Regions from separate parts of the Homo sapiens genome. Here region 1 is linked to region 2. Evidence: promoter capture Hi-C in 16 types of primary human blood cells and fetal thymus (Javierre and others, 2016). All regions are on one chromosome and are shown on one strand. Each heading gives the region's core, a stretch centred on a gene start or on the middle of the fragment in contact. The rest is flanking DNA. Distances are from core to core; before and after follow the strand shown.

What was found. Contacts are between HindIII fragments. The CHiCAGO score rates a contact against its expected background, and 5 or more counts as called.
Region 1: a contact is called between a fragment that was not itself captured here and the fragment with the promoter of PCGF5 in region 2, in 4 of 17 cell types (total CD8 T cells, naive CD8 T cells, naive CD4 T cells and 1 more). The highest score is 7.4, in total CD8 T cells.

The regions. Positions count from the first base shown.
Region 1 is chr10:91,157,134-91,161,978 of GRCh38, forward strand. It overlaps a transcript of PCGF5 not described here. Among named protein-coding and RNA genes, the nearest start is that of PCGF5, 61 kb to the right of the region's middle. The HindIII fragment of the contact is 4,422 bases long and covers 1,056-4,845 here.
Region 2 is chr10:91,218,510-91,223,080 of GRCh38, forward strand. PCGF5 (polycomb group ring finger 5) reads left to right here and starts at 2,154. Exons shown (of 10, transcript NM_032373.5): 1 at 2,154-2,327; 2 at 4,180-4,474. The coding sequence starts at 4,363. RefSeq lists an enhancer at 1,694-1,763 and silencers at 1,954-2,263, 2,334-2,793, 2,483-2,777. The HindIII fragment of the contact is 12,523 bases long and covers 1-4,571 here.

The DNA.
Region 1 (4,845 bases), core at 2,017-4,516, 60 kb before region 2:
GATCAATAGTAGGACCACAACAAATAGTTATTGCAACTATTACTATTAAGTACTTTACATTTGTTATCCCATTTAATTTTCAAACAACCCTTTGAGTTAGGCACATATACTAACAATATCAACAGTTAACAGACTGAGGACATTGCAATTCATAGAATTAAATGTGCCCAAGATCACATAGCTAGTTATTACTATATATTTCAGAACCAGAAAGGCTTGACAATATAAACTCATATTTTATTGATAGTCTGAATGCATGTTGAATTTGATTTTATATGGCAAAATGGCACCATTTTACTATGCCTATAAAATTTTTGACTGAAGTTGGTTCTTCTGCTGGGTTCACTCTGTAAGAGGAAGAATTTGGAGACAGTGAAACCATTAGCAACCTATTGTAATAACAGTTGTAAAGAGAAAATGCCCTGATTCATGGGAAAATTCAGACAAAAAAGACAAGCAAGAGAGACATCCCAAAGTGGAAGTAGAGGCCTAAAGAGAAGGAGTCATCAAAGATCGCCCATTTTAATCCTAAAGAGCCCAATGGATGGTGGTGATTGGCATAAACAGGGAAGCCAGGAGGGGAGTTGACAGTGGGAAATTCACTTTTAGCTGTGTTTTAAGGACACATGATAAGAGGATGGAGCATGGGATGAGTGCTGTGGGAACTGGAGATTCCGCCACTAACATTTTTGTTCCTCAATTTCCTCTTTCAAAAATGATAAGTTGATCTAGAATTAATCCTTTGGATTCCTTCCAACTTCCTAGAGGAAGCATGTAAATGAATTAGAGGAAGTAGAAGGTAGATTTCAGGAATTCAAGAGGCAGTGAGTGATCAAGGTATTGGATCATTAGTCTGGCCTTGAAGTAAAAGAGAGAAGTGGGACAATTACTTACTTTTTAAGATTAAGACAAATGGTGCCTTTTAAGAAATGACTTAGGCAGGATTAATTAATACACCCATATGTAGAATACAGGCTGTTGACAATTAACCTAAGAAATCTAAAGTAAAATGTGTAACAATGAAAGTCAAGTAGACTTTATTTATAGGAGAGATAAGCTTCAGTTTGTGTGGTGTGATATGAAGGTGTTGGGAAAGTCCAGCTGCCCCAAAAATGTCTTCCTGATCTTCTTAAAATACTGCCTGGCTTTACACCATTAAAATAAACCTCTTTAAATGTACTTCATAATATAAAATGCACATTTATTTCACATTCAGCTGTTACCATGCTTTCCGGTGCATTAGGGTAACAGGATGACAACTAGCTACGGCGAACTGAGGAGACAAAGATTTGAAGGGGGAGGAGGAAGGGATTCCTTTGGTATTTGGTGCAGCATTACTCAAGTCAGTCAGTTCAACAACATGTGGCTGCCTATTATACTCCAGATATTGAGCTAGGTTCTAGACATTAAAAGGCAAGTAAGTTGTGGTTCATTGCCTCAAGATGCTTATGGTCAAGAGAGAGTGGACTACATAAAGGTCATGGGGCTGGAGGAGTTTTGAAAAGTGGGACCAGCGACTAGGTAAAAAGGAAGAGGGACAAAGAAATTTGTTCTCTTCCATCACAACTTTGTTGAAGAATTAGATACCCCAAACAATGCTTTTTCTTGGTCCCAGTGAATCCCCCTAAGGAACTACTAAAATTTAAGCTGGTAGAGTTGACACCCTGTAGGCTGAAGAATAACAGATAATTTGAATATCTTTAACTCAATATTTTTGGCCCTTTGAAATTTAAATTAGTAAAATTTTACTATATCAGAACTTGTAACCTAAACAGTTGACTATAAAATACAGGTTTGCTGATAATTTTTCCTGCTCCCTTTCTCCCCTGGAACTTCACAGTATGCTAAGATTGCTGAGGACTGGTGGGGGGATCCAGGGCTAGCAGAAGCAGGAAGCAGGAAGCAGGAAATGTAGAGAAATTGGAGCTAGAAAGATAACTGAGCACTTCTTTAAACAGCAGACTAGAGGAGCACCATATCTTCACAGATGGTGTTAAACAAGCATCATAAGACATAGCTTCAAATAATGCAGGGAACATACAATTAGGGCCACAAAAACTTGGGGTACCAGTTCTAGTTCTGGTATTTACTAGCTGGATAGCCACAGGAAGTCATAATTTTTTTTTGCCTATATTTAATGAGTACTGTCTATATGCCAGGCACCTATAACATGTCTATAATTGACTGAATGTTCATGGCTCCCCTCAAATTCATATGTTGAAATCCTACCCTCCAGTGTGATGGTATTGGGAGGTGGGGCCTTTGGGAAGTAATTAAGTCATGAGAGTGGAGTCCTCATTAATGGGATGACTGCCCTCATAAAAGGAACCCCAGAGAGCTCCGAGGCTCAGTGTCTTTTCACTATGTAAGGATACCATGAGAAGTCAGCACTCCAGAGGAGGAAGAAAGGCCCTCAGCCAACCCCTGACTGTGCTGGCACTCTGATGTCATACTTCCAGCCTCCAGAACTGTGAGAAATGAATGTTTGTTGTTTAAGCCACCCAGTTTATGGTAGTTTGTTATGGCAGTCTGAACTGGGCAAGAGTGTTTTACATATGACGATATTTCATTCTCATGACAACCCACTGAAGTAGATTCTATCATTTTTCTCTATTTTATAGATAAGAAAACTTACCCACAGATAATTCAAGGTCAGATAAACTAAAATTTGTTAAAGTAGGGATTTGAATACAGGTAGTCAAACTCTAATGCCCATGTTTAATCATTATGATATCCCAGGTATTAAGTCTTTTGGGCTTCAGTTCCCTCACTTAAAACTGGACACGTTGCACCAAACAATGTTGAAAATTCTTTCTGGCTTTAAACACTATGATTCTAATTATATAAATCATATCTATATTTAATACGCTCATGGTTAATCTGTGTTTCGGAATAGTCTCAGAGAACTGAGAGCTGAAGACAAGTTTCTGAAATATGGCTTCATTTCTTAGTTATCCCTTGTTTCAGTCAACGTAAACCACATAATTTACTCTTCCACCAAGAATACCCTTCCTCCATTTCCATCTGTTGAAAATCTATCCATCCTTCAAGTGCCAGCTGAAATGCACCTCCTCTAAATAGCCATTCTCAGTCTTTGGGGATTTAAAGTGCGGATGTATTAGACTGTTGGGCGTTGGGATTTGGGCGAAGTATCTGTGCTAATGAAAGGAAAAGATGTAGGATAAGAAGAAAGGTTGCAGGGAACCACGTACAGGAAAGGTAAGAGAACCGTCAGCAGTGTTGTTGGTGACGGGCACAAAGCCTTCCTTGTGACAGGCAATAGCAAAGTCACCAGATTATATTAAATGTTGCCCAGCTAGTAGGAGTGAGATGAAGATTAAATGAGAACGTTTGTAAAATATCTACTACACTGTCTGGAAGGGCAGCAACAGGATAATTCCTAATCTCTTCCTTCCATAGGCAACTGGTCATCTCCTTCATGCTGAAGAAAGCTGCCATCCTGCCCAGGGAGGAGTAGGACAAGAAGAGGGGAGAAGAGACTCTGGGGGGGAAAAGAAGTCAGGCGGAGATATATGGGAACACAAAGAAAAAACGAGAGCCAGAGTACACAAGACGAGACAGAAAAAAGAAATGTAAGGGAGTGACGGCGAAGAAGAGGATAGAACGGTAATGGAAGCAGAAGGGCAAAGAGGGACAAGTAAGAAGGAGAGAATTCTAGGCCTCGGGAAGAGAAAGTTCCTGCTGCACTGCGGAATCCGGCCTAAAGGAAGAGGCAACCAGGTGCAGCACCCAAGCCCAGGTGCCAGTCATTTGCCGCTGGGCTCTCAGACCCATTCTCCTTTTGCGGCTGTCACATATTCTGTAGGGATTCTGAGCCCTGCCCTCTGTCATCTTGTCCACTGGCTTCTCCTGCTTTCCACCACTGGGTGGGCTTGGAGGGTGGGAGGCAGGGAGAAGCCAGGGGGACTCTCATCCCCTACTTTGGAAGATGTCTGCCGCAGTAGTTGCACTAACTTTGTGGCTCCAACTCCTATTGGACAAGCCCTCCAGGGTTCCGGCTGTCTCCTCTCTTTGCCCCTCCAGCCTCAGGGGAGAAGGCACGTCCAGCAGTTGCTAATCTCAGGATTGCCTCACCTTACCCTAGTTGAACGTCCAGTTCTTTCAACACTTGTAACTAATTTGCTGCATTAAATTATTGCTATTGACTCGCTTGGGAAAGAATACTTTCGCTGGATTCACTTGCAGAGTTCAAAGACACTTTTCCTAATGGGACTGCAAGCAGCGCATCGGAGAAAAAAATCTAGCAGTCCCAGGAGTCAAGAAGGGTCAGGGTCTACTTCAGTGTGTGATCAGACAGCGACAAACCCACACTACCTAACAGGGCCGGAAGGCTCTTAGCCTAGGAATTAGCTGTAAAATGACTGGGTTCATGTCTACTTTTTCATGATTTACTCTATTCTCTTTGATCACCGCCAGCCTTGGCTTAAGGAACATCTCTGTAGAATTCAATTTTATTCCTCAAGGGTTACTTAAGTGCCCATTATGAGTATGGAGGGCACATAGCTAGGTGTGGTGGGGAGGAGATATAGAGACGCAGGAAAAATGGAGGGCATGCTCAGTTTTTGGAAGTGTTTGCTTCCTGCAAGATGAGGTTTGCGGACCTATCAGGAGAGCCTCTTGATAAAGACTCCTGAACTTTTCCAGTCTCACCAGAGCTGCAGACACTCGGAGGCAATATTAGTCTTACAGCTTTCATTTCTCCCATCACCAGAGCTCTGTTAAAAGCAGACTCCTCTTTAAGGAATCCACAGATCAGAGAGGGTACAGCACATGCACACAACTGACCCCCAGGTCAGAATGATGCCAGCCACAAGGGGGGATTCT
Region 2 (4,571 bases), core at 904-3,403:
GAAGGAGAGGCAGCACAGCAGCTGAAAGTCCCATGTTTTAATACTTACAATCTGCATACACATCACACAGGAAAGTTGCCATTTCACAACACTCCCTCTTACCATTACTTTTGTTATTATTCTTATTTTATTATTATTATTGAGACAGAGCCTTGCTCTGTCTCCCAGGCTAGAATGCAGTGGTGCGATCTCGGCTCACTGCAACTTCCACCTCCTAGGTTCAAGCGATTCTCCTGCCTCTGCCTCCTGAGTAGCTGGGACTACAGGCGCATGTCACCATGCCCGGCTGATTTTTGTTTTAGTAGAGATGGGGTTTCGCCATATTGGCCAGGCTGGTCTCAAACTCCTGACCTCATGATCCGCCCACCTCGGCCTCCAGAAGTGCTAGGATTACAGGCATGAGCCACCGTGCCAGGCCTATTATTATTTTTTTAACCAGACAAATGTTTGAGTTTTTAAACTTGTTTTTATTTTGTGTATGTGTGCATTTTTTTAAATTGGGGTGGGAGAGATGGAATGGTTGCTGAAGAAGGCAGAGGCGAAACCACAGAACACTTAACTGCAAACTATTGCTGCCTCTCCAGACACAAAGCACAGATTGCCTTATAAAAGTTGTAGTTCTCCCTCATCCCAAGTCCATTCTGGCAACCCCACCTCCACATTCATCCTCAGGTACTGCTGTATCACATGTTTGTGACCCCTTCCTTCATTGCTAACATATGTCATCCTAAAACCCGCCTTCAAGCTCGTTTCCTTCAGGAATACTGATTAACCGCACTTGTGATAGGTCACCAATCACATTTAAGCCCCCTGGACTCCACTGTTATTCTTTTAAAACATATTTAAAATAGTTTCAGACACAAAATAGGAACATACCAAGTCTTTTTTATATATTGTGGTATATATACAGTAATATCCTCCAATGCATATTTTAAACACACTAGAAGTAGTGTGATTTTTCACATACTGTTCTGTTTAGTCTCTGAAATGAAAGATATGAAGCATAAAGAGTAATCCTACTGCCATGAAGTCATTTGACCTCACTTGTTTTCTCTTACTCATTGTGATTGCTGCGACTTATGAAGTTGATCCCAGCTTGGACATTGGCATGTATGATTTTGGAAAATGGTTCTTTAAAGGACTATACGAATGTGGTCATTTAAAGCTGTTTCAGAAAATGTATTGCTCCTGCTGTGATATTAGAAATGGCAATTTTTAAACATGTCAAAGTTTGATTATAAAATGGATAGTTTAAAAAGCTGCCTTGGTCTACTGCTTGATGCATTTTAAATTTGAAATGGATCTTTGAACACTTGTATGGCTGCTGGACTAGCGGTTGTTAAGTTTGTTGGTTTGCCACTTAGAGTCATCTATCACTTTAGTAAGAAGTTAACGCCTATCAGTTGGAGAAAAAGCAAATATTTTGCATTGACAGTCTCCCCTACCCTCTATTATTGTCATTTTCTTAAGCCATCACTGCTCTGGCTTCTAGAATACACATTTTTGAATGAAGGTTTTTGCAGTGAATGGTCTCTTGTAGATCTCAAAGTCCACTAGAAAGAGTACTGGGTTTTTGTTTGTTTTGAACGTTGCAAACAGTAATGCTTCTTTACCACTCACCCTCCCCCCACCCTCAACCTCCACAACGTTCCCGTTTGCTTATAGTTGTCAACGACCATGATCTCTGGACCCACACTACAGTAACAAGTTTGTCAGTCATTTTCAGATAAGGTGCAAATCAAGGGATGGCTTTGTCCCCACTTCGGCGCAGGTGGGACAGACTTGGGGAAGACGCAGCTGAAGAGACAAATTCTCAGGGTGCGTCAGTCTCATCACTGACCGTTGCTTTTAAACCCTCCAGGGAAAATATGCCAGTCATTGTTATGATGTAAACAACCGAAGGGGTGGACGGTGAGGATAAGAAGAACCGAGATAATATTTGGCCAGAGCTACGTGTAGCACAGGGAGCCAGGGCGGCAGCTGCACCTGCGAGCAGCGCAGGCGGCAGGCGCGGCCTCCGGGCGTGGTGGTGGGCGTGGCCGGGCGGCGGGGGCGTGGCCGGGCGGCGGGGCGGGCGGTGCCGCCGGTTGGAAGTGGGTGGAGTTGCCCTTGGAGGCGGCACCGGACCTGGGCCCCGAGGCCCGCCGCGCCCTGTCGGGCCTGAGCCGAGTGGCCCCACAGAGCCGGCGCGCTCCCGCCTGCAGGGGGAGAGCAGACGGGGCGCGGGGACCGGCCAGGCCGCGGCGGGTGCTGTTTCTGTTTCACTTTCCTTCACTCTGAGGCCGGCGCGCTGGCGGGCGAGGAGCGGCGGCGGTGGCGGCCGCTGGGTAGGTACCGGGCGGGCTGGGGAGCTGCAGGGACGCCAGACTCCTCACCCAAGTTTGCGCCTCAGGCGAGAGCGACACCTCCAGACACCTGCCCTGGCCGGCCCAGCCTGGAGCCGGGAGGGCCCTTCGGGTGCAGGGGGCTACCGACCCGGGCGGGGGCTTCGGAGCTGTGCCTACCTCGGCGGGGAGAGCGGCCGGCTGCGGACGCCGGCCCCGGGAAAGGCTGCTCGCTCTCCCCGGCCTGAGCAGCGCGCCCGCGGGGCCTGGGCCCGCGCACCTGCCGGGCGGGCGCGGCTGTGCTGGGACCCCACAGGGCTGTACCGCTGGGTCCTGCCGGAGAACGCAGAAAAGTTCCCCCTTGCCCCCGCCCCGTCATTGCAAGTTCTTGCTTCCCTTAACTGTCTTGGTCACAGGGCTCTGTGCCTTAGGATCTTAGTACCACCCCAGGTCGGGACCGTGCATTTCCTCTTCCAGAGGACTTTCTCTTACTTTGGAGTTTCATGGCAAACCTGTGGGAAAGGCAAGGCAGTTAATCCCAACTTATAGAGGAGGAAGCCGAGACCCAGGCTCAGATATGAAACGGTTTGCTGAAGGTCATACAGGGGTAAGGGCCAGAACCCTGATTCCCTGTCTTTTAATTATGCTTGCTTTCTGTTACACGCACGAATACGGTTTCCCAAGAGGATAGGATGATTACACGTAGAGCCTATTCCCTGCACATTCGCAGTGGGTATGTGTTGATGGAATGCCTTTTACCTTTCCGGTTGCTTTATATTTACCAATGAGTTAACAGCTAAGATGGGGGAAAGTTCCTGTTTATAGAATGCACTTAGGAAAATCAACACCTTTCATGTTGTGTTTTCTGAGAGGATACATATTTTACAGTTAAAAAAAAAAAAAAACCTGAGACAGGAAAGTAGCATTATCCAGGTTATATATCTACTAAATATGACCAGTTTCTATTGAAGAGTTTTTGGTCTAACAAAGAAGGTAAAGAATGAACGTAACTATAAATCAAAATAAAAGGCAAATGTAATAGGAAAGAAGTAAGCATTAAAAACTAGGGAAAGATTGCACTGAGAATAGCATTGGAGAAGGGCTTGAAGGATAGGTGGCATGCAGACAGAGGAGAGAAAGGGCGTGTTGGATAGAGTGCTTAGAACCTGCAGAGGAGACGGTGGGAGAGGAGTGATCCCTTCAGGTTGAAGAAAGTTGTTGAAGGGTATATTAAGGTTAACCTGTAGAAGGTCTTATGTGACAGAATGGGAAACATTTTTCTGTTTGTAAAGAGAAGACACTGACATTCGTTGATAAGAAGACCCAACCAAGTGTCACAAAATAAAATGTGCCTCGTAGCAGAATATAAGATGGACTGCAGGTGGAGAGGTGATATACAAGTAGAGCAGCCGGGCATGGAATAGCAGAGGATATCAACTTGGTTTGACTCGTAACTGGATGAAGGGTTAAAAATGGAAATGGGGAACATTTTGATAGGGAGGATAATTACTTAAGTTTTTAATCTTTTAACTTGTATTGGCAGGGACTCCTAATAGAGCAGTCAAGCAGATAGTTAAAATGCATTAGTGAAGAGGTAAAGATATCAAACTGTAGTTAATAGCTTTGGGTGTCATTAGTATAGAGGTGGTAGTTGAGGTTCCAGGACTGGATGAATTTGTCATTATTCTGAATTATAGCAGATTTGCAAGTTAATGATACAATGAAGGATATGTTCTATTCACCTATTCACCCAATTGGGAACATGTAACACTTGCTGTTAATAGAATGACATTAATACATTATGAGGAATTTGACGCTTTTTTCTCTCATCTTTTTGAAATGATTTTGGAAACAGACATGGGAAAGCGGAACCACCAAAAGGAGTGATGATCAACGATCTCATGATAAATCTGGATGCTAGTTCTCATGCCTCAGGACATCCTACTGGGAACGACACACCAGCTCCTGGGATCAGACTTTCATCTACTTAGGACCCCTCTTTGCCCAGACTACTAAAGCCAGTCTTCACTAGCCACGAATGGCTACCCAAAGGAAACACTTGGTGAAAGATTTTAATCCTTACATTACCTGCTATATCTGTAAAGGGTATCTGATCAAGCCAACAACAGTGACGGAATGCCTCCATACATGTAAGTATTCTTTTAGGTTATTATACCTATCAAAGTTTATATGTACATTTTGTTCTTTTAAAATTGCCATGTTTTGTTTTTATCTATGTTGTAACTT